6 separate regions of the Homo sapiens genome follow, and regions 1, 2, 3, 5 and 6 are each linked to region 4. The links are contacts of gene promoters, found by promoter capture Hi-C in human tissues and cell types (Jung and others, 2019). All regions are on one chromosome and are shown on one strand. Each heading gives the region's core, a stretch centred on a gene start or on the middle of the fragment in contact. The rest is flanking DNA. Distances are from core to core; before and after follow the strand shown.

The links. Contacts are between HindIII fragments. The study calls those that stand out against the background at their distance.
Region 1: a fragment that was not itself captured here is called in contact with the fragment with the promoter of ANO7 in region 4 in 1 of the 25 tissues and cell types used here (pancreas).
Region 2: a contact is called between the fragment with the promoter of KIF1A here and the fragment with the promoter of ANO7 in region 4, in 2 of the 25 tissues and cell types used here (IMR-90 fibroblasts and spleen).
Region 3: the fragment with the promoter of BOK here is called in contact with the fragment with the promoter of ANO7 in region 4 in 2 of the 25 tissues and cell types used here (lymphoblastoid cells and mesenchymal stem cells).
Region 5: the fragment with the promoter of STK25 here is called in contact with the fragment with the promoter of ANO7 in region 4 in 2 of the 25 tissues and cell types used here (IMR-90 fibroblasts and lymphoblastoid cells).
Region 6: a contact is called between the fragment with the promoter of AGXT here and the fragment with the promoter of ANO7 in region 4, in 3 of the 25 tissues and cell types used here (IMR-90 fibroblasts, adrenal gland and mesendoderm cells).

Annotation. Positions count from the first base shown.
Region 1 is chr2:241,677,460-241,682,093 of GRCh38, forward strand. It overlaps DTYMK (deoxythymidylate kinase), which reads right to left. Exons shown (of 5, transcript NM_012145.4): 3 at 2,770-2,860; 4 at 993-1,190. Among named protein-coding and RNA genes, the nearest start is that of DTYMK, 7.0 kb to the right of the region's middle. The HindIII fragment of the contact is 3,955 bases long and covers 454-4,408 here.
Region 2 is chr2:240,818,963-240,823,328 of GRCh38, forward strand. KIF1A (kinesin family member 1A) reads right to left here and starts at 1,257. Exons shown (of 49, transcript NM_001244008.2): 1 at 1,160-1,257. RefSeq lists an enhancer at 1,669-2,243. The HindIII fragment of the contact is 12,815 bases long and covers 1-4,271 here.
Region 3 is chr2:241,557,298-241,561,872 of GRCh38, forward strand. It overlaps BOK (BCL2 family apoptosis regulator BOK), which reads left to right and starts at 1,448. Exons shown (of 5, transcript NM_032515.5): 1 at 1,448-1,696; 2 at 2,158-2,406. The coding sequence starts at 2,187. BOK-AS1 (BOK antisense RNA 1) reads right to left here and starts at 1,846. Exons shown (of 2, transcript NR_033346.1): 1 at 1,480-1,846. RefSeq lists silencers at 2,111-2,190, 2,221-2,290, 2,341-2,470. The HindIII fragment of the contact is 1,356 bases long and covers 477-1,832 here.
Region 4 is chr2:241,186,650-241,190,998 of GRCh38, forward strand. ANO7 (anoctamin 7) reads left to right here and starts at 2,028. Exons shown (of 25, transcript NM_001370694.2): 1 at 2,028-2,117; 2 at 3,408-3,522. The coding sequence starts at 3,415. It overlaps LOC105373971 (a long non-coding RNA gene), which reads right to left and starts at 1,773. Exons shown (of 3, transcript XR_924064.3): 1 at 1,627-1,773. RefSeq lists enhancers at 1-102, 1,298-1,982, 1,983-2,666, 3,600-4,100, 4,101-4,349. The HindIII fragment of the contact is 24,444 bases long and covers 1-4,349 here.
Region 5 is chr2:241,507,076-241,511,875 of GRCh38, forward strand. STK25 (serine/threonine kinase 25) reads right to left here and starts at 1,509. Exons shown (of 12, transcript NM_001271977.2): 1 at 1,368-1,509; 2 at 931-1,060. The coding sequence starts at 960. It overlaps LOC107985788 (a long non-coding RNA gene), which reads left to right and starts at 1,797. Exons shown (of 2, transcript XR_001739177.2): 1 at 1,797-2,022; 2 at 2,363-2,820. RefSeq lists an enhancer at 334-383 and silencers at 814-863, 1,144-1,913. The HindIII fragment of the contact is 21,130 bases long and covers 1-4,800 here.
Region 6 is chr2:240,865,367-240,870,183 of GRCh38, forward strand. It overlaps AGXT (alanine--glyoxylate aminotransferase), which reads left to right and starts at 3,458. Exons shown (of 11, transcript NM_000030.3): 1 at 3,458-3,664; 2 at 3,804-3,996. The coding sequence starts at 3,500. RefSeq lists an enhancer at 2,977-3,477. The HindIII fragment of the contact is 24,692 bases long and covers 1-4,817 here.

The DNA.
Region 1 (4,634 bases), core at 1,181-3,680, 490 kb after region 4:
CGGGCTGGGGCGAGACCCTCGGCCCTGCTCTGGAGGAGGAGCTCAAGGGACTGAAGCTCCGCGGGCCGTGGCCACAAGCGACAGTGCTGGCGCCCGACGTGCCAGAAGCCCTGGCTGCCGCCTGGAAAGAGGCCACGTGGGCAGCGGTGGGCACGGGCGACTGGAGTCTGGGAGAGAGGTAGGGGCTGCGGTCGGGAGGAGCAGAGGCGGCCAGCCTGCGAGTCCACTGGGAGGGGAGAGTCCAGCGTCCTGGGAGCAGAGCCAGACCTGGGACTGCTGAGATTGAAGGAGGCAGGACTGAAGGGAGAGGCAGCACACAGCACCCTCCTGAACTTAGATGGCCAGGTGCTGCTGCAGGGCCCATGCCCAGCGAGAGGCCGCACCAGAGGACACAGTGGCAGGAACAGGCTGGCGCTCGTGTCTGAAGAGGGGCTGAGGATGTGGAGGATTGCGCAGACTCTCACCTGACCCACCAGACAAAGCGCCAAATGTCAACATTTAGCAAAACTCATCGGGTTAGAATTTGCTGGCACTGGCCGGGCGCGATGGCTCATGCCTATAATCCCAGCACTTTGGGAGGCCGAGGTGGGCAGATCACCTGAGGTCAGGAGTTGGAGACCAGCCTGACCAACGTGGAGAAACCCCATCTCTACAAAAAAAATTAGCCAGGCATGATGGCACGTGCCTGTAATCCCAGCTACTCGGGAGGCTGAGGCAGGAGAATCACTTGAACCCAAGAAGCGGAGGTTGCAGTGAGCTGAGATCGTGCCATTGCACTCCAGCCTGGGTTGGCACCCAGAGCAAGATTCTGTCTCAAAAAAAAAAGAATTTGCTGGCACCGAGAACCCCTGAACGACTACTCCCGGGGCTCCACATCTGGGAGGACCAGACGGAAACGGCAGCAGCTTTGCTGACACAACTGTGCCAGCCACCACGGTGTCATCCTGAGCCACTTCTCCACGCTTCCTAGTGTGCAATTCTGGGATTCTCACCTTCCAGTTCAAAGTCGTGTCTTTCATGAGCTGGTGGAAACACCGGAGCGCCCGCTCCTGGAAAGCCCCGTTCTCATAGCGCTCATGGCCAAACGCTCCCCGCTTGGCAGCATCCGCCAGCTGTAACTGGAGGAACAGGACCAGGTCGGGTTTGGGAAGGCCCACGTCTGGCTGTTTACACCAATCTAGGGAAAAATTCTGCCAAGAAAGAACCCAACAGTTAAAGCTTAGTGTAGTCTAGGTTTTTGTTTCGAAAGTCGTAAAAACAGGAAAAAATGAGGGGACATTTGGTGAGGTACCAAGATGTGAGACTGTTTATATTGTGGCTCGTTTAATTTTTAGAACCTCAAACGTGTCGGTTTCTCCAGTGTCACCTTTGTTTTTCCTTTGTAAACAGACAAGTGGACAGAAAAGTAGGTAGATAGAACGGCTGCCAGTCCCCGCCACCCACAGCCCAGGCCCCATGGAGGCCCTCCCAGCACAGCTACAGGCCTGCTGGCCAGGAGCAAACAGTCTATGTACAGAACCCCTGGAGACCCCCGGCCTAGAACGCCTGCAGCACAGAGCAGCTGGGTCCGGACACAGGCACGAGGTCCTTGGCAGTGTCTTTTCTGCCACACACACGCCAGGGTCTCCTCTCCCGTGGAAGAGCAGGAAGAAGACAGGCACTCCTAGAGCCTGTTATGTGCCAGCCTAGTCTCATCCACTGGCCCTTCTTGCCAGGGCTGTGCCAGCACCCTCTCTCCCTCCCTTACTCATCCCATCTCCCTCCAAATGCTGTCCTGTTTCCGGAGGAAAGGTAGGACCAGAAAGGCTGTGACTGCAGGCCACACATCACACAACAGCACAATGAGCTGAGGGAAGGCGTCCACGAGAACCTCCCACAGAGCCTGCGGCTCTGTCAGCTGATCCGCACAGCAGGAAGAAGCAAAGGAATCATGAGTCTTGTCCTCCTTATTATACAACGTAATACTTCAGAGGGGAAGGACTCAAGCTAACACATGAAGAAATGGCAGAATTAAAAAGTGAGGGCGTGGCCGGGCACGGTGGCTCGCGCCTGTAATCCCAGCACTTTGGGAGGCTGAAGCGGGAGGATCACTTGGGCCCAAGAGTTGTTATAGCGAGCTTTGCTTGTTCCACTGTACTCCAGCCTGGGCAACAGAGGGAGACGCCCTCTTTCAAAAAACGGGGGAAAAAAGTACTACAAATGAACCATCTTTGAAAATGCATCTGGAGGCTGGGTGCAGTGGCTCATGCCTGTAATCCTAGCACTTTGGGAGGCTGAGATGAGTGGATCACTTGAGGTCAGGAGTTTGAGACCAGCCTGGCCAACATGGTAAAACCCCGTCTCTACTAAAAGTATGAAAATTAGCTGGGCACGGTGGTGCATGCCTATAATCCCAGATACTCGGGAGACTGAGGCAGGATAATCGCTTGAACTCAGGAGGCAGAGGTTGCAATGAGCTGAGATCGTGCCACTGCACTCCAGCCTGGGTGACAGAATGAGAGACTGTCTCCCCAAAAAAAAAAAAAAAAGCGTGTGGAAAATATAATCCAAATACCAACTATGGTTCTATCTGTGAAACAATCTCTAGCTACATAAATGTTTGCTCTTCTTATTGATAAAACCAAATTAATCTAGCAAAGAGATAAAAGGAATATAAGAATCACGAAACTCTGCAGAGTAATCTGAGGCATGTCACTCGTACTCGCATTCAAGGGCAGTCCTGGGTCCACACATCTGTGCTCGCCTGACAGGAGGCCAAGTGGCACTCACCTCCTTGGCACCGGTGAAGGCCACACCAGAAAATGCGTATCTGTCCACGACGAGGGTCACGCCCTGGCTCAACTTTTCCTTAATTAACGGCCTGAAAAAGAGGATGCTCCTGAGCCCTGGTCCTGTTTCATAGGCCTTGAACTGTCAAGCTTAAATTATCCCAACAGGCTGTGCGCAGTGGCTCACCCCTATAATCCCAGCGCTTTGGGAGGCTGAGGCGGGCGGATCACAAGGTCAGGAGATCGAGACCATCCTGGCTAACATGGTGAAACCCTGTCTCTACTAATACAAAATATTAGCTGGACATGGTGGCAGGCACCTGTAATCCCAGCTACTCGGGAGGCTGAGGCAGGAGAATTGCTTGAACCCAGGAGGTGGAGGTTGCAGTGAGCCGAGATCACACCACTGCATTCCAGCCTGGGTGACACAGCGAGACTCCATCTCAAAAAAAGAAAAAGAAAATTATCCCAACAATACAACTCAGAAATCTCATATGACAACAAGTACAGCACAGTGATTTGTAACCTTACTTTTAATCCAAAAAGGTCTGGATCTTCTCTAGAAGATGCCATACCCACACCTCCAGCAAAACCCAACATGGAGAAGATAACCTTACTAAATAGTAACAAACACAACTGGTAAAGTTCAATGTTCCAGAAACACGGCAGGGGAAAGGAGATGCACTGTCAGCTGTCTTGGTCAGAGAGGCCAGCTCTACCCTGTCGAGGAAGAAGAAAGCACAGGCAAAGAAGAGAGCAGAGGATGGTGGCGGGGGAAGCGTGGGCACAGCCAGCAGGTGACTCATCCATGCTCATGACCCCTAGCCTGGACTGCAAGGATGTTCTCAGCCAAATACCACAAGTCCACCATCATCCCTACAGCTGCCAAGATCACAGATGTACAAAGACACGGGGCCTGACACTAGTGAGAAGCACTGCTCAAGACAGAGAAAGAAAAGTCCGATTCATTCGACTCAGCCAGTCTCACTGGGGCCTTCAAATCACAGGGGCACCCACATAAGGAGTCAACTGGCCTCTGACAAAGCAGCAGAGGGATGCAATGGTGCAAAGGCATTTTCCTCAATAAACGCTGCTGGAACAACTGGACATCCTCATGAAAGAGAATAAATCTAGACCAGACCGTATACCCTCCACGAACATAAATTCAAAATGAATCACAGGCCTGGCACGGTGGCTCACGCCTGTAATCCCAGCTTTCAAGGAGGCAGAGGCAGGAGGATTGCTTGAGCCCAGGAGCTCGAGACCTGCCTGGGCAATATAGTGAGACCCCGTTCTCCACAAAAAGTGGGGGAAAAAAAAGACAAAATGAATCACAGACCCAAATGTAAAATGCAAAACTATGCAACTCCTAGACAGTAACACAGGAGAAAACTTAGATCACCTGGGGTTTGGCAGACTGTTTAGATACAAAACCAAAGGCACAGCCCATGAGAGAATTGATTAAGATGGACTTCACGAAAATAATAACTTTGTGCTTTGTGAGAGACACTGTCAAGAGAAGGAAAGGACAGCCGGACGTGGTGGCTCATGCCTGTGAGCCCAGCACTTTTGGAAGCCATTTGGCGGGATGGATCCCTTGAGGCCAGGTGTTTGAGACCAGCCTGAGTAACAATAGTGAGACCCCATCTCTACAAAAAATGTAAAAATTAGCCAGGGATAGTGGCACGCACCTGTAGTCCTAGCTACTCCAGAGGCTGAGGCAGGAGGATCACTTGAACCCAGGAGTTTAAGGCTGCAGTAAGCTGTGATCATGCCACAACATTCCAGCCTGGGCAACAGAGCAAGACATTTCTCCTAAAAAAAAATAAGGCCAGGCAGGGTGGCTCATGCCTCTAATCACAGCAC
Region 2 (4,366 bases), core at 7-2,506, 370 kb before region 4:
CTATTCCCGGGGACGTGGGCGCGCATCGGGTCCGCGCCGGGCGACGTCGCGCTCGCGCCCAGCAGGCCCCATGACTTGGCATTCCCTCCTTCCCCTCCCCCTCCCGCCCCTGCGGCCGGCAGGGCCCCCCCAACCCCACCTACCGGCGCCCAGCGCCCCGCTCCTGCGGACCCTCCCTCCCGGCGGGGATGCTGCCCCGGCCCTTCCCAGCGAGAGGGCAGCGCGGCTGGTTTGGGGGAAGTCAGCGTGAGGAGCGGCTTAAAGCGGGAGTGCGAAGGTCTTCGCGGCCACTGTTCCTTCGTGTCATCCGAGCCCGGGCGCCGGGGGCGCGCCGCCAGCCTAGACCCTGCGGCCCCGCAGCCCCTCCCTCGCCGCCGGGCCACACCTGTTACAGGGGCGCTGGCTGCTGAGACGCAGGCAGTGCTCGCCGGCGGCCCCTCCCAGGTGCTGGGTCTTTCTGGAAGGGAGCTGGGGTCTCTGGCGTGGGAGGGGGTGATGGGCAGGCCGGCCGTGCAACGAAGCGGGTGGCCAGGCCCCAACGCCGCAGCCCCCGCCCCGCCCGCCTGTTTTGCTCCCGGCTCCAGCATCCGCCCTCCCCCACCCCGGGAACCGGAGCAGCTGCCCGCGCCCGGCCGCCCTGCGCGCTCTCCCCTCGGGCCGAGGCGCTGCAGCCGCGCACCCTCCCAGGTGCGGCGTCAGCGTCCTCAGCCCCGCTCACCATCCCTCCCCTCCCCCGCCGTCTGGGCGCAGCCCCTCCCGCAGCCCCGCCGGTGGCTCCTCTCCAGGGAAGCGGAATAGCCGGGGAAGGGCGGGGGTATCCCGATCCCGCCGGCCGGGCGAGCCCTCCCGAGGGCGACCCCCGCCCGCCTAAGCCGAGGGTCCCGCTGCAGCCGAGATCGCGGCAAAGGGACCTTTTCCAGCGGCACCTGAAGGGCGGACACCCCTGAATTTCCCCCATTGTTCTCTGCGGAGATGGAGGAAGGTCTGGAAGTGAAGGGGCCTCGCAGTGCCTGCGCTTTGGGCGGCAACAAGGGCGCCGGGCCGGAGCTCCCCGCCCTGGGCGCAGTGGGTGCAGGTGCGGGCTGCGGGCGCGGGCTGCCGGGCGCAGGTGCGGGGCGAGGGGCGCGGGCGCGGGAGGCCGGGCGGGCGGCGGCCTTACCTCTCCGGCGTCACTGGCGGCGGCCCCGCATGGGCACTGGCATGGGCGCGGGCTCTCGAGCCCGGAGCTGCTGCCGCTCGCCGGCTGCTCTGCGCTGTGACGGCGCCGCCGCGTGACGGGCTGCGCGCCCCCGGCCCGGACCGCCCCGCGCCCCTCCCGAGGCGCTGGTTGGCTGCGCGCGGCGTCCGAGCTCCAGTCGCCAGCTGGTTTGTCGCGCGGGGAGAGGGACGGGCGACGCGGCCGCCGCGGGGATGGGGCTGGGGACGGAGGGGGCCGGGGCCGGGCTGTGACGTCACCGCTGACACCGCGGCGGGCCCCGCGGAGGGTGGGGGACCGACACCCGGCTCGGACGCAGCGTCCCCTCCCCCGGCGTGCCCCTGAGACCTCGCGGGGGAGGGACCCGGCGGCGCCCCGTCCCGAAGCCCCGCGTGCACCTGAACTTGCCCGCGGACCCCTCGCCGGGCCGTCCCCCACCCTGGCCCCTTTCGAGTGAAATCGTAAAACGTCCACCTGCCCCCGCTCTGAGCCAGCGACAGACGCATCGTGGGGGGCGGGCGGGGCTGGGGAGGGAGGGCTCCTTGCGCCAGGGATGCTGGCTCCGGGTGTAACAGGTGCGCGGTGAAATCGCATCTTGTGTCGGGGCCGGGGCGCCGGGGGAAGAGCAGCAGTGACCCAGGCCCTCCCCGCCGGATGATGCAACCCGCCCGCGGACCCGCCGCCTCGCCTCTACCGCGGCTCGTGGGGACCCCCCGCCCTCCTCTCGCCCCACCTCTCCAGGCCCCCATTGTCCTCACCCCAGCCTGTCCAGTTTAACTTCCTTGGACCCCCAAGTCACACGCCGCTCGGGGGCCACCCCGGCAAACCCCAGCCTGCGTCACCCGCCCCCAGCCGCCTTCCTAGTTCCAGGGGCTGACTGGTATCTCTGTGCGCGCCACCGTCCTCCCTCCACCGTCCCAGGGCTGGGCAACTTCGACAAAGCCTCTGGGCAGCTCGCCCATGGGAACCTCCCCGCACTGCGGTGCGGGGGTGCACGGATTTCGGGCCACCCTGAACCCCGGGGCTGGGTCCCCTCCAGCCCAGCCCCTGCCATCGAGCCCCTGCCATGGGCATCCTGGCGTCGCCTGGCTAAGCCTCCCTGGCGCCCAGCAGGGGCCTGCGCTGCCCTAGCGGCCTCGCCGTTAACCATTTCATCCACACTCCTGGGAGAGCCGGCTTCACCTCAGTCCCGACAGCTGCGTGCGAGCGCCTTGCAGGTGGCTGGGGGAGATTCACATCCACTTCTGCAAGACACGGGCCCCCCACTCCCAGCCCCAGCCCCGCCGAAACCAGCTAGACAGCTCCTCCTCCTTCACTATTTCCTGGAACCGCCGGCATGAAAGAGAAATCAATTGTTCTTCCTAACCCTGGCAGAAACAATAAAACCATCTGGGCTTCTGGGGCTGGGGTCTTTATCACCTCCGTTTTCCTCATGCTTTTTAATCTGGCAAGTTCTCTATTTCTCGAGGCAATAGACATTTTTCTAGGAATTAATCTATTTCACGTTAATATTTAAATGACTAGCATATCTTTTTTTCTTTATATTCTGGCTTTTTATGGTTTTGTTTGTTTGTTTTGACAGGGTCTTGCTCTGTCTCCCAGGTTGGAGTACAGTGGTGCCATCTTGGCTCACTGCAGCCTCAGCCTCCCCAGCTCAAGCAATCCTCCCACCTCAGCCTCCCTAGTAGCTGGAACTACAAGTGTGTGCCACCACGCCCAGCTAATTTTAGCATTTTTTGTAGAGACAGGATTTTGCCCTGTTGCACAGGCTGGTCTCAAACTCCTGAGGTCAAGCCATCCACCCACCTCGGCATCCCAAAGTGCTGGGATTACTGGCATGCATTTGGCCTGTATTTTGTTTTTTGCATTTTTCTCTTTTAATATTTTTAAATATTTTCAGAGCTCCAACTTTTAGTTCTGTTAAACGTCTTTCCCGTTATTTCATTTGCTTCTGTCTTTCTGTATTATTTCCTTCCTTTGTGGTTCTTTGGATTTGATCTGTTCCTCTGTCTTGAACCAAATGCTTAGCTCCTTTTTAAGCCTTCTGATTTTCCAATAGATCTACTGTATTAAAAGCTACAAAATTCCTTCTACAGAACTGTCTTGGCTGAGTCTCACAAATTTGGACATAAAATGTTTTCATTATCATTCATATCTAATATTTTCTACTGTTCCTGATGATCTCCTTTTAAACCCAGGGTTATTTAATAATGTTATTTACTTTTCAATAGTGTTTCTTTAATTATAACCTTTTGTTACCAGGTTCTAATTTAATTGCATTGTTGTCAGAGAACAAGTCTGTATTCAGTCAAGATCCTGGCAGGAAGCAGATGGCACACTCAAATTGGGTAATTTGAGAAGGGTTTGATAAAGAGACTATTGATAAAGGTGTGGGCAGGAGGTCGGAGAGCCCCAGGGGCTTGGTGGCACTGCAGCCTTACTGCCTGCAGGGAGCGGGGCGGGCAGAAGCAGAGGCTCAGGTGGAGGGGTGCAGCCAGCCAGAGTTTCCTAGGAAGGGAGCCAGGGCAGCAAACCCTGGACCTCACTCTCCCTCTTCCCCTGATCTGGTAGTGCTTTGGCTGAACCCAAGGGGAAGCTGGAGGTCAGGGGCACCCAAGGAGTATGGTGCATTTCGGGTGGTCTCCTGAAGAATGGGCAAAGGGAACTTAGAAGCACAAACAGAAACTAGCTGCCCAGTCTGCATGGCCCTGTGCCTCTGGAATTCATTGAGGCTTCTTTAGGTCCTAACACATAGTCTATTTCATACATGTTCTACCTGTGTTCAAAATGGTTGTACTCTCTGCTTGATGGGCAGAGAGTTCTCTATATTATGTATTAGTTCAAAATTATTAATTCTTGACTCAGTAAGGTAAGATCCCAGATAGAAAAGCTTTTTAAGGTTATTAATCATTTTGATCAGGATTTGGAGATTTCTGCTAATTTTTGTCAATGTGAACTATGCTTATTATTTTTTAAAATTTCCAGTTAGAATTGTTAAAATATCTGCTTCTCCCAGCAGTTCCGGCACATGTTGCTTGCTGTGTATTGTGGCCATATTTTTAGATATTAGAATGATTGTGATAGACATGCATTATCATTCTGTGGCTCCTTGCGCCCATATGTATGTGTGCCCTTCTTTGTCTGGCGTTTGGAGTTTTTAAATTTTTTGCC
Region 3 (4,575 bases), core at 198-2,697, 370 kb after region 4:
TTTCTTTTTCCTTTTTTTTTTTTTTTTTTGAGATGGAATCACACTCTGTTGTCCAGGCTGGAGTGCAGGTGGGATGATCTCTGCTCACTGCAACCTTCGCCTCCCAGGTTCAAGCAATTCTCCTGCCTCAGCCTCCTTAGTAGCTGGGATTACAGACACCTGCCACCACACCCAACTCATTTTTTGTATCTCTAGTAGAGACGGGGTTTTCACCATTTTGACCCGGCTGGTCTCAAACTCCTGAGCTCAGGTGATCTGCCCACCTAGGCCTCCCAAAATGCTGGGATTACAGGTCTGAGTCATTTCACCTGGCCTAATTTTCAATCCTTCTTCTAAAGCTATCAAATTTCCTCTAAGCAGTGTTTTAGTTGCACTGTACAGCATTTGATATGTCTTATTTTTCACTGTTCTTGTCAACATATTTTAATCTTCCACTGTGATTATTGACCCATTGATTATTTAGAAGTGTGACATGTAATTTCCAAGCATTTGCAGATTTTCCAGTAATTTTTCTGTTATTGACTTTTAATTCAGAGAGGACACACTGTAAGATTTCAATCCGTTGAGATTTGCTGAGACTTGTATAAGGTCCATGATATGGTCTATTTCGATAAACATCCTATGTGCACATGGGAAGAATAAGTATTTTATAGTGTTGTACACACGTGAATTAGGCCAAGTTGGTTAATCCTATTGTTCAAACTGTGTGAGGTTGATTCAAGGATAAAGAAATAAACCAGTGGGATAGAGTTCCGAGACACACACACACACACACACACACTCTTCAGCTGATTTATGTTGAGATGTTGGGGACTCCTCCAATTCGGTGGAAAAAAAATGATGCTTTTCAATAAATGATGCCAGGTCAATTGGATATCTACACGAAAAAAAATGAGCTCTAGCCCCGTACCACACCATTCACAATAATTAATATGTAATCAATCATAGATCTAAATATGAGCCCTAAAACAAGCTTCTAAAAGGAAATACAGGAGGATATCCCAATAAAAAGGTACTAACCATAAAGAAAATATTGATAAATTGGACATCACTAAGAGTAACTCCTGTTCATCCAAAGCAAAAGTAAACCACAAAATAGAGGAAGATATTTGCAATAACTTCAATAAATGCGAATCCAATAATCCATCTACAATACAAAGGGCATGCGTCCGGACCAAGAACACGTCTCCAGACTCTGGAAAGAACCTCTACGAACGAAGAAGACAACCCAATTTTCAAATGGACCCCGGGGAACACCCAGGCGGCTGGGGCTGGCTCTAGGTCCCCACTGCTCTGCCTTGCGGGGGCCGCTCCGGCCTGGTCGCCTTCTCCGGGCGCATCCAGGGAACTCGCTCGGTCCTCCTTAAGCGGGGAAGCTCGGAAAGCGTCTCCCCGACTCCGCCCCCAGGGTTGCCTTTCCCTTAGAAGGCCAAGCCCCAAGCCCAGCCTCTCGCCAGCTGGGAGTCGCGCGCTGCCCACCTCGCTGCCCAGGCCCCCGACGCCGCGGCAGGAGCCCCCCAAGAGCGCGGGAAGCCCCGTGGACCTGGCGCTCCCGGCTCGGGCGTGGACGGGGCGGGCGCCGGGGCGGGGCGCGCGTCCTCGCGGGTCTGAATGGAAGGGTCGAGGTCGTCGTCGGCGGCGAGCAGATCCTGAAGCCAGAACTCCACCCCGGCGCCCGCGCCATGCGGCGGGAGAGGTGAGCGCGGCGGGCGTGGCGTCCGTGCCGGGGTGCCCGGGGTGCCACGGGAACGGCGAGGCCGGGGACACGCGCGCAGGACGCCAGCGGCGGAGGTGGGCGGCCCCGGGCCGGGGCGGGGAGGGCCGGGTCCTGGCAGTCGCCGTGGGGGACGCGCTGGGCTGTGCCCTCCGCCCCCGCCGCCCACGCACTCGTCTTCGAGGGCGGGCCCGGCGGCCCCGGAGCAAACCGCCGTCTCCCCGCGGCCCCACCGGTCCCTGGCAGCCTCGGGGAATGTCTGTAGCTGAATTCGGGCTCTGAAAGAAGGTGGCGCTGGGTTTTTAAAGATTTGGGGCACAAAAAACGAGAGCGGACCCGGCGCCGGCTACGGCCCTTCCCGAGGGCCACGCCCAGCCCGGCGCCCCGCGCGCCCCGTTCCCCGCGCCGCCTCCCTCCACCCGGCTGAGCGCTTGTGCCCGCAGGTGCGGCGCCCCCCACCCGCGTCGCCGCCATGGAGGTGCTGCGGCGCTCCTCGGTCTTCGCCGCCGAGATCATGGACGCCTTTGACCGCTCGCCCACAGACAAGGAGCTGGTGGCCCAGGCCAAGGCGCTGGGCCGGGAGTACGTGCACGCGCGGCTGCTGCGCGCCGGCCTCTCCTGGAGCGCGCCCGAGCGTGCCGCGCCGGTCCCGGGACGCCTGGCTGAGGTGTGCGCGGTGCTGCTGCGCCTGGGTGAGTGCGCCCTGGTGGGATCCCCAGCTGCGCCTCCTCCCCTGCTGGGCCGCAGCCTCCCTCCGAGGCCGAGATGGGGGTCCGGCCCAGGGGCGCCCACCCCCTGCCTGGGACGGCCAGGCGCTCGGGACAGGGCCACCCAGGCGGGTGCTCCCGGATCTGCCCTCTCAGGCCTCCCACGCCACAGGCCCCCCCATCAGCTGCCTGCTCAGCCCAGATTTCAGTCATGCTGGCCATAAACAATAGAAAGCTCCAGAAAGAATAATCTATTAGTGGGTGGCTAAGCTTCCACAGTGACCCTTGTTCTCAGCTGGGCACAGAAACCCTTTGTAGGAGCACGTGTCCCGATGTTTATTTTGGAAAACAGATTCTTGCTGTTACTGGCCGAGATCCCGCCCGCTGCCCTCTGGATTCCGAGGCCTCCGAGGCCCCCCCATTGGAAACTGCGCCCACCGGGCTGGGTAGCCAAAACCTCAGTATTCGTTGGTGCTGTGAGGACATCTGGGGGTGCTCGGTTCTGGGGTCACACACGGTCCACTGGCTGCCCCCACCGTCTCCAAGGTCTGGACCCAAGAGGGAGGGACCAGCCCCACTGTGACTGTCCAGTCCCCTCACCACAGCTGGGCTGTGGCCGTCACCTGGGAATGTTTATGTGATGCCCGAAGAGGGCACATGGGGCGCCTGTGGCTGAGCCCGGGAAGGGGAGGTGACAGCATAGGTGAAACTGAATCGGTGGCTCTCCAGGCAGGGGGTTGGAGTCGGAGGGCACGACCCCGTGAGGGGACACGCTGCCTCCTCTCAGGCTGGCGCTGGCATGGGCTCTAGGTGGCCCCTGCCCTTACGTGGTGGGCTGGGCCCAGAGAGCAAAGCTGTGTAGACCTGGCCTGCCCAGGAGTGTGTGTGGGGTGCAGACAGAATCCATGGGGACCAGCACAGAGCCTCCAGGAGGAGGTGGAGTCCCATCTGAGAAGTTCAGAAGGAGGGAGAGGTCTCTGGGTGGGAGCTAGGGGGTTGGTGGGGCTCCATGAGATCCGCCGCCTGCTGCTGCCTCTAGTCGGGCTCTGAGAATGACCCTAGGGGATCCTTTTAGTGGCCTTCTGAAAAGATGATGCCAGACCCCTGGAATGGCTGGGAAGAAGTCCCAGATGTCTAGGGGGACCCCAGAGGGACACAGCTCAGACCTGCATCTGCCCTCACGGCTGCTCAGGGTCAGTCCCTTGAGGCCAGCGCTGTCTCCCTGCCCTTGGGCAGTGCAGACAGGAAGAAGCCCGGGTTGTGTCCCCACCTTCAGTCTGGGGCCAGCCTGCAGCAGCCCCGGAGATCTGTGTTTGGGAGCTGCCGGGTCAGTCCTGGGAATTTCCATGTCGTCCCCCGCCCCCAGCCAGCCTCTCATGGGCTCTGCTCTGCTTCCAGATCTTAATTAATGAGATACAGAGCAGCCTTTATCAGCTGGGATGGTCCGGTCAGCAGCATTACCCTGTTTGCTTTGGCTGGAGAACTGGCCGGGCTGCGGACTCCCAATCCCAGGGCCCTGTGGCATTCTCGGCACCATCTGCCCCGTGCCTGTGCGCTGCTGCTGCCAAGGGTGCCACAGGCAGCACTGGGGCGGTGGGCCTGTAGGGGCCATCCTCGGCTGCCAGGGGCAGGGCTGATGCAGTGCCACCTCCAAGCACATCCCCTTGGCAGCAAGAGCCCAGGTGGGAGCGTGGCAGTGAGGGTGGCCCAGGACAGCGGCCCAGCCAGCCCAGGTGGGAGCGTGGCAGTGCGGGTGGCCCAGGACAGGGGCCCAGCCAGCCCAGGTGGGAGCGTGGCAGTGCGGGTGGCCCAGGACAGCGGCCCAGCCAGCCCAGGTGGGAGCGTGGCAGTGCGGGTGGCCCAGGACAGGGGCCCAGCCAGCCCAGGTGGGAGCGTGGCAGTGCGGGTGGCCCAGGACAGCGGCCCAGCCAGCCCAGGTGGGAGCGTGGCAGTGCGGGTGGCCCAGGACAGGGGCCCAGCCAGCCCAGGTGGGAGCGTGGCAGTGCGGGTGGCCCAGGACAGCGGCCCAGCCAGCCCAGGTGGGAGCGTGGCAGTGCGGGTGGCCCAGGACAGCGGCTCAGCCTCTGCATCTGAGTGGTCCCTGAGCCATGCTAGGGCCTGAGCCGGGCTCTCGGGCTGTCCCCTGCTCTCACC
Region 4 (4,349 bases), core at 778-3,277:
AAAATGTTACAGCCAAAGAAAGATGGTGCAGCAGATTCTGGGCCTGGGCTCTTCCCAAGGCCTGGAACCTGGCGGGCCCCCTGTGCTGGTTGCGGCTTTTCTCCCTCCCTCCCTTCCTTCCTTTCCCTCAGAAGTAACACAACTTGAAAAAACCACCCACCCAAACAGAGTTGTATGAAGTAAAAATGGAAAGACACTCCTCAGGGCCGAACCCCCTTTAGGTGTTGTGCGTGCACTGTCGCTGAAAGGGCTCCCACTGGGGTGTGGTCACCTCCAGCAGCCGGCCCTGAAGCTCTTGAGTAGACAGCCCTGAGGCCACCAGAGCCACTTTGTCACCAAGAGCAGAGAGCCAGGAGCTCCTGGGAGGTGGCATGTCTTCCTGGGAGGGTCCTTGGCCAATGACTGAGCAGAGTAAGAGCCTACAGTTGCATCCAGGTGAGGAAACGCTTCGTCTTGCCTCCCCTGCAGAGTGCCCATGGCAGGCTGAGGCCACCCTCCACAGGTCTTGGGGAGATGGTGCCCCGCTCATCCTCCCTCCCCTCCTGCCTCCCGACTCCTTTCCTGGTTTCTGGAGCACTTCCCCAGTCCAGCCCTCGTCCAGGGATCCACCTCAGGCGCCTGCAGGCTGAGCTTGGCCAAGCAGAGACCTCTCATGCAGATGCCCTGAGGCCCAGGGCCCCAAGGTCCTGCCGCCCAGGCTCTGCTGGTGCTGACAGGGAACCCGGCCTGCAGGGCCTTCCCGCTGTTCCGAGGCACAACACAGGTCCAAGAACAGGGCCCCTTGGGAGGTGCCAAGCACAGAGGGGCATAGGTATAAGGGAAAGCTGCAGCCAGGATGAGGGTCCGCCTGGAGGGATTTCAACAGGCAGAAGGGGGCACCTGGAACAGCAAGCTGAGCTTGGGGCTCCCCAGTGCAGTTGTGCATGGAGGGCGAGGAGCACGGGTGGTAGGTTCTCAGACACTGCCAGGCACCAAGGAGGAAAGGGGGAGGGGGAGGGAGAGGGGAAGAGGAGGGGCGGGGAGAAAGGATAGGAGGAGAAGGAGGAGGAGAGGGAGAAGTGGGGGGAGGGGGAGAAACAGGAGGAGGGGAGTGGGGAGAAAGGAGGAGAAGGAAGAGGAGAGGGAGAAGTGGGGGGGAGGGGGAGAAACGATAGGAGGAGGGGGAGTGGGGAGAAAGAGGAGGAGGAGGAGGAGTTGGGGGGAGAAATGATAGGAGGAGAGGGAGAGGGGAGAACGGATAGGAGGAGAAGGAGAGGGAGGAGTAGGGGGGAGAAACAATAGGAGGAGAAGGAGGAGAGGGAAGGTGGGGAGAAAGGATAGGAGGAGGGGGAGAAAGGAGGAGGGGGAGGAGGGCTAGGAGGAGAAAGAGGAGGGCTAGGAGGAGAATGAGGACGAGGAGGAGGGCGGAAAGGATGGGAGGAAGGCTAGGACCCCTCCTGTCCTTTTGCAGATGGGGCCCTGAGCATGGGATGTGCCTGAGGTCACCCCTCAGGCATTAGCAGAGCCAGCAGTGTGATCTGGGTCTCCCAATCTCCCCAGCCCCCGGGTGAAACCCTGGCCCACCACTCAGCACATGCTACGTAACCTCAAGGAGCCTCAGTTTCCCCCCACATAAACAGAGCTTACGAGGTCTGCCTGGCAAGGCTTCCAGCAGAGGTGGCACTTGTGGCTGTTCCTGTGGAATCCCACCTCCTCGAGACCCTCCAAGGCAGCAACTATGACAGCTGATGCCAGCCCTGAAATCTCTAAGCAAATAAGGTTCCCAGGAGGACGGCAGCATTTGCATGCGGGTGTGTGAAAGCCCAGCCAAGTGGGCTGCCTCTGTCTGCAGCTCTGAGCCCCACACCCCCTATTTAAACAAAGATAGATCCTGCTCCAGGAGCCGGGAAGCCTTGCCCTGGCCAGCTGTGCTGGGCACCTCCCCTGCCTGCTTCCTGGCCCACTTGCAGGCAAGGTGAGGGCATGCGAATGGCTGCCACTGCCTGGGCGGGGCTCCAAGGGCCACCCCTCCCCACCCTCTGTCCCGCAGTGAGGACGGGACTCTACTGCCGAGACCAGGCTCACGCTGAGAGGTGGGCCATGACCTCCGAGACCTCTTCCGGAAGCCACTGTGCCAGGTGGGGACCCAGCCTAGACGTGTGGGCCACAGGGAGAAGGTGGAGCGTTGGACTCTAGGGAGGCAGGGCGGCACCCCAGCCCACCGGGACTTTCACACACCCTGGCCTGTGGGGAGGCAGTGCCAGGGCCCGCCCTGGTCCCCAAAGCCCCTTGGGGCACGAGGAGGGACACACACTCAGTGCGGCTCTGGACGGGGTACACCCAGCTGGGGTTGGCTTCCTGCCTGCCCAGGGGCTCCCCCATGGAGCAGGTCCCTTCGTTGGGGTGGGGGGCATCCCCATTCTTTCTGCAGAGAGCTCTGAGGAGGGGCCCGCCTGCCCACCACAGAAGGATGGGGGCATGAGGGGCTGCTGGGTGGCCGAAACTCCTCGGGGACTTTCCTCCAGGAACACCCCACAGTCCGTAGTGAGGCTCCCAGCCTGGGGCCGGGGCCGAGTCCTAACACTGAGACCTGGCTCGGGCTTCAGGGTTAGGCAGGTGCAGGCGGCCCAGGCTCAGTCTCTGTCCCTCTGGGCCTCCGCTAATGTGAAGTGAAGGGTAGAACTAGAAGGCTGCCCCTCCGACCTCCTGCGGCGCCTCCATGGTCACACCCTCCGGTCATCGTCGCAGCTCCAAATGCCAGCCCCAGCTCGAACCCTCTCCTTCCAGGGCCACAGATGTCGTGCTCCTGGCCCCGTTTTGCCAGCCCAAGACTAGGAGCCACGGCACCTGTCCTCCCACAGAGAGAGACCCCCGGGGCGAAGGTGCGGGAGGAAGCTGGGACCCCCAAGAGTTGTGAGGCCGGGCTCCATCAGGCCCGCCTTGCTGGGGAGCTCAGGGCCTATGGGTCCTGGCACTGGGTCCTCAGGCCATGAGCGAAGGCAGGCGACTTGAGGGGTTTCCTGTCCCTGGCTCACATGGCTCCACCCTACGGATAAGAGAGGGAGAGGTGTCTGTACTCCAGGCCCACCTTTCTGGGCCTTCTCAGGCTCCACTGAGTACCCAGGCAGAGTGGACGGCATTCAGGGCTGGGGGACACGGGCACTCACTGGATGGACAGACAGACGCCTGCTGTGCCAGGCCTGCCAGACGCTCCCGCCCCGGCACTGGTTTCTTCCTGGAGCTCGTGGCTGGCTAGGGGGTTCTCCATGTGCTCATGGCCAGGAGAGTCTGCCGAGCCAGCCCAGCCCCATTCTACTCCGAGTCGAGTCTGTAAAGTGAGCTCACTGCAGGCAGTGTGGTGGCCCCAGGAACGGGTCTCACCCATCCCCTCTCTGACCCCCATCCCCACCCGGCCTTGCTGGGTGCAGGAGCAGGATGCTGCGGCGACGGGCCCAGGAAGAGGACAGCACCGTCCTGATCGATGTGAGCCCCCCTGAGGCAGAGAAGAGGGGCTCTTACGGGAGCACAGCCCACGCCTCGGAGGTAACAGCACCCAGGAGACTGTGGTGCGACTTGAGAGGTCCTCCCCTGCCTGGGTCTATGCCCCCACCCTGGGCCCAGAGCCTCTGGGGGTGGATGGGCATCACCGTGTTTCTCCTGCATCCCCCGGCAACCCCCAAGCCCTCGCCACCCAGTCCTCAACACACACAGTCAGATCACCGCTCTCCTGGCCTGGCCTGGCTGTGGAGAACCGAGCAGAACCCACTGATGTTCAGACAGGAGCTCCAGGAGGGTAAGGGGGGCCTGGCCAGGCAAAGGCAAGACCAGGGCGGGGCCCTCCCTGTGGTGTCAGTCCCAGTCAGTGCAGGGCCACAGCAGCACCCAGGGCCATCTGTAGGGCTCCACCTTGTCACTAGGAGGCCATGGATGCGCTGTGAGCCTGTGGGGAGAGGCTGGGTCCCGGGCCTTCAAGGCCATGCGGGAGGCCCTGGCCGTGGAGGGCCCTCTTCCTGGTTCTCCTGGGCCACACGTCTGCCCCAGCAGCCTGCGGGTGGACACGGGACCCCTTCCTGCCGCCCCAAGCACAGCTGAGATGAGCCTCCAGGGAGGGCACAGGGCCTCTCACCTCAAGCATCCAGACACTCTCGGTCGCCATGGCCAACTCTGTCCTCAGGGCCCCTTTGGGAGCAGTCCGGCTCCCCTCTGCCCCTGGAGGCCAGCAAGGCAGGCACCCCTGGTCCTGGCCATGCTTCCCGCCAACCTGACCCTTGCCATGGGCCTGGCCCAAGGAGGAGGGGAGCCGGCTGGAGGCCCAGGGCTGGTGGTGCCCTCTGGCCCTGCCTGCCGCTCCCCGCGCCTGCGCATCCTGT
Region 5 (4,800 bases), core at 259-2,758, 320 kb after region 4:
CACATAGGAGTGAACAAGGAGGGCCACACATTTTAGCGGCGATTCCAACGCCTTAGGTAGAGCCAAGGCATCAAGGAGAATAAAACCGAACAGCTAAGATGTAAGAAAACCCAGCGGCCAGAGTCAAAAAAGTGGGGAGGGGTAGAGAATGCAAGTCCCCAGGCCCCAGGTTGGCTGACCCCACCCTCCTTCCCCGGCAAGCCCTTTGGCACCAGCAGCTGGTCCTCATTCCAGGCTAAGGGCTCGCCGTAGTGGCTCCCTCCGAGGCTGTCCCACCAGACGCTTAAAGGTGGCTCCATAGTGGAAACGACTTCTTTAAAGAAGAAAGATGAGTCTCATGTTCGGGCAACCGCCCGTCGCAGGGGTTAAACGGTCCTGACAGAGCAGCCTTTTCACCCTCCCCTGGGCCAAAGCACACACGTGTTCTCTGCTTTCCCTGCACACCGGCCACTCAGATCTGCTTCTCCACAATCTCAGCCCCTCAGCGCCCGCCAGGGTCTCCCCTACAGCCCCTGCCCAGCCCAACACGGCCAGAATGACCCGCGGCCCAGGCCGAGGCCGCAGGGTGGCCCCCGACCTTCCACTGCCTTCGGATGCTGACATGAGGTTCCCGCCCCGCGCTGGGGGCAGCGCCCCGTCCCTGCGCCGGTGTCTCTTCACGCACCTCCACCGCCCTCGCACAGGCGGAGCCACCAGGGGCTCGGTTTCTAGAGGCCTGCGAGCTTCTGCCACGCAAAACGCCACAGGCACACGGCAGAGCCCCGGGGCCGCCCTGCGCCCACCTCAGGACGGCTCCGCTGGTCGCACGACGCGCGCTCCTTCCCTCACCCCACTGCCCGCTCCGGCGTGGCGCTCCCCTCTGAACCCCCAGGAGACTCTGGAGCCCCTCGGTGAGAGGCCGCTAGTCTTCCTGACCTGCACCCTTCTCACCTGGTTGGCAAATCCCCGGAGGTGAGCCATGGCCGCGCCGCCTCAGACCCTCCGCCAGCAGCCCCAGGAGGCGTCTGGATCCCGCGGAGAGGCGCGGAGCCGGCTAGCTCGCCCCTGCGGCGTCAGTCCACTGCGAGGGACACCAGGGGCGCTCGGTGCCCAGTTCAGTCATCTGAGACCGACCTCCGGGGCGGCGGGCTCCATGGGTGGGGGGGGGCCCAGGAGACCCCCCAGGCCGCCGGGGCCCCGCCACGCCCGGGCCTAACGCCCAGGCTCCCGGGGGCTCGCCGCCCCTCCCGTCGCCGCCCCCACCTCTTCCAAGGCAGCTTCCTCCCGGTGCCCCCGCCCCGGTGTCCCCGCCACCGAGCCCCGCCCCGGGCCCCTCCCTCTGCCCCCTCCCCAATCGCCGCAAGCGCCCCGCCCGGCAGCGCGCCCACCTCCGCGGGGCTCCATCCCGGCCTCCCCCGGCCCGCTCTGCAGCGCCCGCGAAGGCTCCCACCCGCAGCCTCTGTTCGCCCGGGGACCCCGGGCCTCCCAGCCCGCGAAGCAACGGTGGTGGCGGCAGCGACCGGAGAAAGCCCGGAGGCGACGGCGAGGGCGGTGCTCGGCGTCGCGGCCCGCGCACGGCTCTCTGGGACCCCGAGTCCCACCGCCCACTCCGGGCCCGGAAGCCTGCTGGCGTTGGACTACAAGTCCCGGCAGGCTGCGCGAGAGGGGGCCGGGGCTCGCATGCGCGCCGCGAGGCTCTCTGGGACCCCTAGTCCTGCTCCCGAAAGGTTTGGACTGCGTCTCCCGGCAGGCCGCGCGCCTGGGCGGGCGGGGCACGTGGTCGTTGTCGCGTCGCGCCCTCCCTGCCTCGCCCTCGCGGGTCTTCTGCGTTTGCTGGCGCCTGCCAGGCGTCGTCTCCGACGTTACGGCGGCCGCGCGGCCCTCTCCCTTGGGCTCTGCCCTGCGCAGCCCTGGTTCGAGCGGGCCAGTGAGGCCCGGCGCCCTCCCCGCCTCGCCACGAGGATCCACCGCGGCCGCCCAGGCTTCTAGCCTTGTCGTCACGGCACGGAGATAAGCCCGCGCTGGCCACATCGCGAAGCCCCTGTTCGTACTGAGACCCCGCCCGGGATCACGCGCACAGGCCAGGGCGCACCAGGCCTTGGAGAAGCTACCGGCACAGCCCATTCCTTGGGCGAGTTGCTTCGCCTCTCCTGCCTCAGTTTCCTTACCTGTCAAGGGGTGGTCATAGGACGTCCTTGGTCACACCGTTGTGGGACCCACCTGGGCTAGAGCGCGGGACGCGCCCAGGACAGTGACTGCTGCTGGAAGCCGTCATGGCACTCCCCAGGGTCCGGGAGGGACTTGCAGATCCCAAGGCTACCTGGTGCGTCCCCGTGCCCCGTGGGCCGCCAGGTCATAGTGCCCCCTGTGTGCATTCCCCTAGTGCACCGCAGGGATCCCCACCTGTCCGGTGAGGAAGATTTGTCCCTCCTGCATACTGTGTCCACCCTTACAGGCCCTCACTCTCCATGATGGCTCAGCACAGGTGACTATCCTGACCTCCTCACATCCCTCCTTCTTCGAGAGGGTTCTGGCGTTTCTCTCTGCTCCCTGGTGCGTGTCTTCTCATGGTGCACTGCCGAGTCCTTTAAGAAGCTATGCTTCCCTGTCATGCGTCCAGGACAGCCCCTTGAACCCCTCCTGGGTCCGCATCTCTCATCACCCCTGCTTCTTTACGTACTGACTTGGCTTTGTTTGTGCTTTGACTCCCCAGGAGAAAGTGGGCTTCCTGCAAGCGGAGCTGTGCCCAGGACCATGCCAGCCCACGGCAGGCGCTCAGTAATGTTTGTTGAATGAATGTGTAAATGCATGAAGATAATATATGTATTTAATGCATGTAAATAGATGCCTGCTGCATCTCTGGCCTTCGTGTGGTCAGTAATCGCTGCACTTTTCCGAAGTGCCTAGAAGAGGCTGGGAGCAGTGGCTCACACCTGTAATCCCAGCACTTTGGGAGGCTGAGGCAGGCAGATCACTTGAGGTTGGGAGTTCGGGGCCAGCCTAGCCAACATGGTGAAACTTCATCTCTACTAAAAATACAAAAATTAGCCAGGCATGGTAGTGCGTGCCTGTAGTCCCAGCTACTAGGGAGGCTGAGTCAGGAGAATCGCTTGAACCTGGGAGTTGGAGGTTGCTGTGAGTCAAGATCATGCCACAGTACTCCAGCCTGGGAGACCGAGCAAGGCTCTGCCTCAAAAAACAAATTAATAAAAGTGCCTAGAAGAGTTTTTCAGCCTTTGCCTGCTTTTGGCCAATTGTTAACCCTTTGCTCCTGGCTGCTGTCTTGCTAAGCTGCCGTCCGGACGTGATCATCACCATGTCTTTTCCTGCATTGACCTTCCAGGCCCTTCATCCCGTTTCTCTTGTTTTCCATTTCTTTTTTGTTGTTGTATACTTCTGTTATTCTTCGGGGTTTTTGTTTGTTTGTGTGTTTGTTTTGAGACGGAGTCTCACTCTGTCTCCCAGGCTGGAGTGCAGTGGTGCGATCTTGGCTCACTGTAACCTCCGCTTCCCAGGTTCAAGCGATTCTCCTGCCTCAGCGTCCTGAGTAGCTGGGATTATAGGCGTGCGCCACCACCCCCGGCTAATTTTTGTATTTTGAGTAGAGACGGGGTTTCATCATGTTGGTCATGTTGGTCAGGCTAGTCTCAAACTCCTGACCTCGTGATCTGCCCACCTCTGCCTCCCAAAGTGCTGGGATTACAGGCATGAGCCACCACGCTCGGCCTTATTCTTCGGTTTTATCTTTCAACTTTCATATAAAAATTTTCTTTTCAGTGATTCTTTCTTTTTTTTTCCCAGATAAGGTCTTACTCTGCCACCCAGGCTGGAATGCAGTGCGGCAATTTTGGCTTACTGCAACCTCGACCTCCCAGGCTCAAGCAGTTCTCCCACCTCAGCTCCCCATGTAGCTGGGTCCACAGGCACATGTCACCACACCCAGCTAATTTTTGTGGAGACGGGGTCTCCCCATGCTGTCCAGGCTGTTCTCAAACTCCTGAGCTCAAGTGATCCTTCCGCCTCAGCCTTCCAAAGTGCTTTCAGAGTACAGGTGTGAGCCACTGAGCCTGGTCTCTATTTTTCACCTCCAAGAAATTTTAGTTTTTTCTCTGGGCACTCACTTTCTTCCTTGGGAATATGGCGCTAATAGTACTTTTCTTGTAGATTGTGAGAATAACACCGTATGTGGCGGGCCTGGCCCTTGGCAGGTGCTCAGAGAGTCACTGTGTTTATTATTGACAAGGCTGACCTTGGGTGGGAGGAGGGAACACTCACAATTGAGCCCCTTGGGCAGCTTACCTTCAGGTCCAGTCACTTGGTGACTGCAACAGCCCTCCGAGGCAGGCAAGGGATAACTAAGAGGTAAAGGGACGTGCCCAAGGCCACAACCAGAATATGGCAAAGACAGGATTGAACCCAGGTCTCCTGAGTCCTGTTTGTATGCTGCTGGGAATTCAGGTAGGAGTGGAGAGAAGCTGGAGTTGGACTTTGTGTCAACCTGGGTCAGGTGTGAGTTGGCCAAGCCACCCTCTGGTTTGACAGACAAGGAAATGAAACCCAGAAAGAGGACAGCATAGCAGCATCTGGATTAGAACTGGGTTCCCCTTCTGATTAAGATAAGAGATCGGGCACTTGAGCTTGTTCTTCTTTCCCTACCAGGGACCTGATAACTTGTCAAAAGGGGCTCAGGAAGGGAGGCTAAACCCTGAAACTGTTCAGAGAAAGGAGTGGGTTCCCAGCAGGTGAGTGCCACAAATGTCCAGAGGTAAAGCTTGGTGACAGTGAAATGGGGGGAAGAAGCCTTCACTTGAGCCCCCTCCA
Region 6 (4,817 bases), core at 2,208-4,707, 320 kb before region 4:
TCTCTCATATAAAAACTTCCCAATCCTCTTGGTTTGACAATATCATCTTCAGCATCTCACATGCTATTGTGAGAGGAGAAAATACTCTGTGTGGCTGGCTTTGCCGTCCACAACCTGCTACTCCAAGCCATGTAGATTCTTCTTCGTAAGCACACCCTGTCTCCAATCAAACTGTACTGTTGGGATTTCATTATTCTTCTCACCACTCCTTCCCACCCCGACCATTTCCTTCTGTGCTGGTAAATTGGAAACCACCTCCCTCTTCGTGCTATCATATTACTTCCCCCACCATCCACACTTACAATATCACTGAAACTTCCTTAACTTGTAATGTTATTTTGGGAGGTACACCTTGTTATAATGACACTCATGCAGCTAACTTTGACTCATTTGAGGCCTTCGCCTCCTACAATCAAAACTCTGACTCTGGCCAGGTGCGCTGGCTCACACCTGTAATCCTAACACTTTGGGAGGTAGAGGTGGGTGGATCACCTGAGGTCAGGAGTTCGAGACCAGTCTGACCAACATGGTGAAACCCTGTCTCTACTAAAAATACAAAAATTAGCAGGGCGTGGTGGCAGGTGCCTGTAATCCCAGCTACTCAGGAGGCTGAGGCAGGAGAATCGCTTGAACCCAGGAGCAGAGGTTGCAGTGAGCCAAGGTCACACCACTTCACTCCAGCCTGGGCAACTGAGTGAGACTCCATCTCAAAAAAAAAAAAAAAAAAAATCTGACTCTATCTCATCACTGCCAATTTATAAGCCGTTAAACTGGACCAGTATAGTGGGGCTCCCAGTATACAGCACCCCTGCACTCCTAATACCTTCATGTATGTTACTATAATGATGCAACCAGTGCAGGAAATAACCACCGTGCCACCTGGTTTACATCCTATGCCATGCACTGGCACCCGCCTGCTTTTAAACCTCCTCCATCAGTACATAAACATAGTCTTTCCCCCATATGAGTCCTCTTAAAACTGTCAAAAGGCCCATTTCCTTTTTTCCCAACATTTTAATTAAAATAATCATCCTGCCCCTCCTGGGCTCTTATGGCTTAGCAGCCCCACTAAAAACTATTTAAACCCTTTTCAAGCTTTGGCCCTATCCCACCTTGATCATTCTCTTCACTATGGTGATTGTAGCCTGGGAACAATAGCTCCCACCCAAATCACTGTCTTAAACATCACTTCTAATTCAGAATTCCCTTCTAGAAGGAAAAGGGCCCTGGGACTTACTGTGGCCGGAGTTGTGGGAACTATCACAACTCTTACCCCTTGGGGAGGTTTTACTTACCAGGAAATCACAAGTAAGAGAACCTACCGCCTCCCTTGAAATAGCAAAAGCTGGCACCCATCTATCAGCTCTACAAGTCATTAGACTCACAAGCAGGATTTTGGTGTCTGGTAACAGGTGAGTTCTGGATTACCTCCTAGCTGAACAAGGAGGGGTCTGTGCTGTCATCAACAGGACCCGTTGCACCTACATTTATGTGTCTGGAGAAGTGGAAACCGATGCCCAAGAAATCATCAAACAAGCCAAATGGCTACACACACTTTCCCAAAGCAACCAAGACTGGGCCAAAACTTTTACTGATTGGTTTTCAAAAAATCACTTGGCTTCCCCCATTCCTTAGACCTTTATCTTCTGTCATTTTTCTTTTAATATTTGGTCCCTGCCTTTTTAATGCTCTGATTGCTTTTCTATGTTCTACATGAGAACAATTCCACCTGCAGAAGGCTATGCATTCCCAACACTGGCCTGCAACTGCAGCTCGATTTACATGGGGCTTCTTGATGGAAATACCGGCCTGCAACTGCAGCTCCCATTTACGTGGGGCTTCTTGATGGAATCCCATCACGTGCCTCCGTGCACAAGTTTTCATGACCCTTTATTCCCTTCATGACCGAGAGCAAGAAAGGGAAAAACGTGACCTACCCCCCTGAACTCCCTTTCAGCAGCAAGTAGTCAGGCGCACTGGACACCCCTCTTCACTGTGCCGTTTCCCCTTTCTTGAGACCCCAACAGGAAGCAGGTGGACATGAGCATGGCAGAAAAGGAAGGGTCAAAGATTTCACCAAGATATTTGTCAGAGGGAAAATGAGGACAGCAAAGATCACCTGGAGACCATCAAGCAGGCCCCAGGTGGGGTGGGTGGAGGGGAGCCTCTTTATTTGAGAAATGTAGAATGAATTAGACTTCCCTATTATCTAAAGTTGGCACCTGGTTCCAGGCCTCTTTTCAACCTAAAACTTATACATAACTAGAATTTCTATACATCTCTGGAATGCAGCATGCTGAAACTCACTGTGCAACCCCTGCCTTGTGTGTGTCTGTATACCATGCAGGTTTGCTTGCTAAATTGAGCCTGTAAACCAAAAAGTACCTCAAACAGGTCTCAATTAATTTAGAAAGTTTTTGTTGCCAAGGCTAAGGATGCACCCGTGGTACAGCCTCAGGAGGGAGGACATCCTTGCCAAGCTCAAGGGTGCACCCCTGACCACAAGGGCCCAAGGTGGTCGGGGCACAGCTTGCTTTTATACATTTTAGGGAGATATGAGGCATCAATCAATACATGGGAGATTTACATTGGTTCCATCTGGAAGGGCGGGACAACTTGAATTGGGGGGCTTCCAGGTCATAGGTAGATTTAAACATATTTTGATTGGCAACTGACTGAAGAATTATTATCAGCAGAAAGGAGTGTCTGGGTTATGAAATAGGGGTTGCAGGGAGCAGATGATGCCTTCAGGTAGCGGGATTTAGAGAGAAAATAGATGGTAAATGCTTCCTATCAGACTTAAGGTCTATGTCGATGTTAATGCTGGGGGTTATGATGTGGCATGGCCTGAACGTCTTCCGGGTTAAAGTTTAGAGCACCCTGGCGGACAGGGAACCCCATTCAGATGGTTGCTGGGGGGCCTTCGAATTTTATTTTTGGTTTACAAGCCTTCCCATCAGCTGCGCCAGGGTCAGCAAACCACAGTCCATGGGCCCAATCTGGCCTGCCACCTGCTTTTTGTAAATAAAGTTTTATAGGAACACGCCCACACCTCTGGCAGCTGCTTTGCAAGCACGCAGCAGGGTTGAGTTGTTGCAACATAGACCACAGGGCCTGCCAAGCCTCAATTATCTGTGCTCCGACCCTTTAAGAAACACTTCTCTCACCCCTGAGCTAAGCAGAATAAGAGGGGCTGGACGTGCAGGACTCAGAGTGGGAGCGAGGAGGGCTGGGGTGAGGACAGCTTTGTCACACTCTGTTTTTCTGTCACTCAGCCCTGGGGGCTCCCTCTGCCTGAGGGCTTCGTCCCCTGCTGCCTGGCCGTGACCCGCAGCACAAGCACAGATAAGCCTCAGGGAACAAAAGGCAGGGCTGCCACGGAAGCCCATCCACCAATCCTCACCTCTCACCTCTGTGTCCGCCCTGCTGGGAAATATTCCAGGCTTTGGCCAAGGCCAGTGCAGCCCCAGGTTCCCGAGCGGCAGGTTGGGTGCGGACCATGGCCTCTCACAAGCTGCTGGTGACCCCCCCCAAGGCCCTGCTCAAGCCCCTCTCCATCCCCAACCAGCTCCTGCTGGGGCCTGGTCCTTCCAACCTGCCTCCTCGCATCATGGCAGCCGGGGGGCTGCAGATGATCGGGTCCATGAGCAAGGATATGTACCAGGTAGGAGTGGGGGTCACTCGGGGGGCCTGGGTCTCACCCATGTTCCCACCCACAGATCGTGGACGAGGGAAGGGGGTCACTGCCTCCTCACTTGGGGAGGCGGGGAGCCTGGGTCTCACCCTATACCACCCGCATGCAGATCATGGACGAGATCAAGGAAGGCATCCAGTACGTGTTCCAGACCAGGAACCCACTCACACTGGTCATCTCTGGCTCGGGACACTGTGCCCTGGAGGCCGCCCTGGTCAATGTGCTGGAGCCTGGGGACTCCTTCCTGGTTGGGGCCAATGGCATTTGGGGGCAGCGAGCCGTGGACATCGGGGAGCGCATAGGTAAGGGAGAGGCCCAGGTGGGGATGGCCCTGGATCCATCCTTCAAGGCCTCCCTGGCCTCCCTCTGTTTGAAGCTGGCAGCCCCCGTTCCTGGGTGAGCGCTTACCCACCTTGTGGCCCTGTGCGCACGAACCTCCTGCCAGCCCACTGCCTCCTCCAGGCGGTGTCGGGCACTCATGAGGCCTGACTCTGATAGGGCTGGGAGCAGCACAGGTGCCCCGATCCCCCCAGTCTCCTTGAGCTGTTTCTGGAGCATGTGCAGGACGGAACTACAGGGAAGCCTCTGGTCCCAGCACACACTCCTGAGAGCCCCGGCCGCTGTCCAGGGCCCCAGGCACCAGCTCTGCTTTGTGACAGGGTGGGGTTTCAGAAGCTGAAGCCTCCCCTCAAATCTCAGCAGCCTTCCTTCTGGAATCTTGATGTGATACACAAAATATGGAGGTATGGGCAGAGTATTCGCCTCCGGAGTACACTTTTCTGGGAGAGACACAGGAGCAGGAGTGTGCCCTGGGTTTAATGATTGATTGTGGCATTGAGGGACATCAGCTTGGTGAGCTCCACAATGGCCATGCTGGTTAATACGCGACCGCAACAGCCAAGAGGGTCCCAACCCCAAGTCCACAAACTTTTCAAGGGGACCCAGGGTCGGCAGAGGCCAGGACCCCAAGTGGACATCAGGGCACGCAGGCTCAGATGCCTGTGGTATATGGCTTCCCTTTTCCCCATTCTGTCCCCTTGGCCGCAGGTTCTTCCCCTCCCACAACCTGGCCCTGAACAGCACACAGGATAGGGCAGAGACAGGGAGGGGGTGAGGGCCTGAT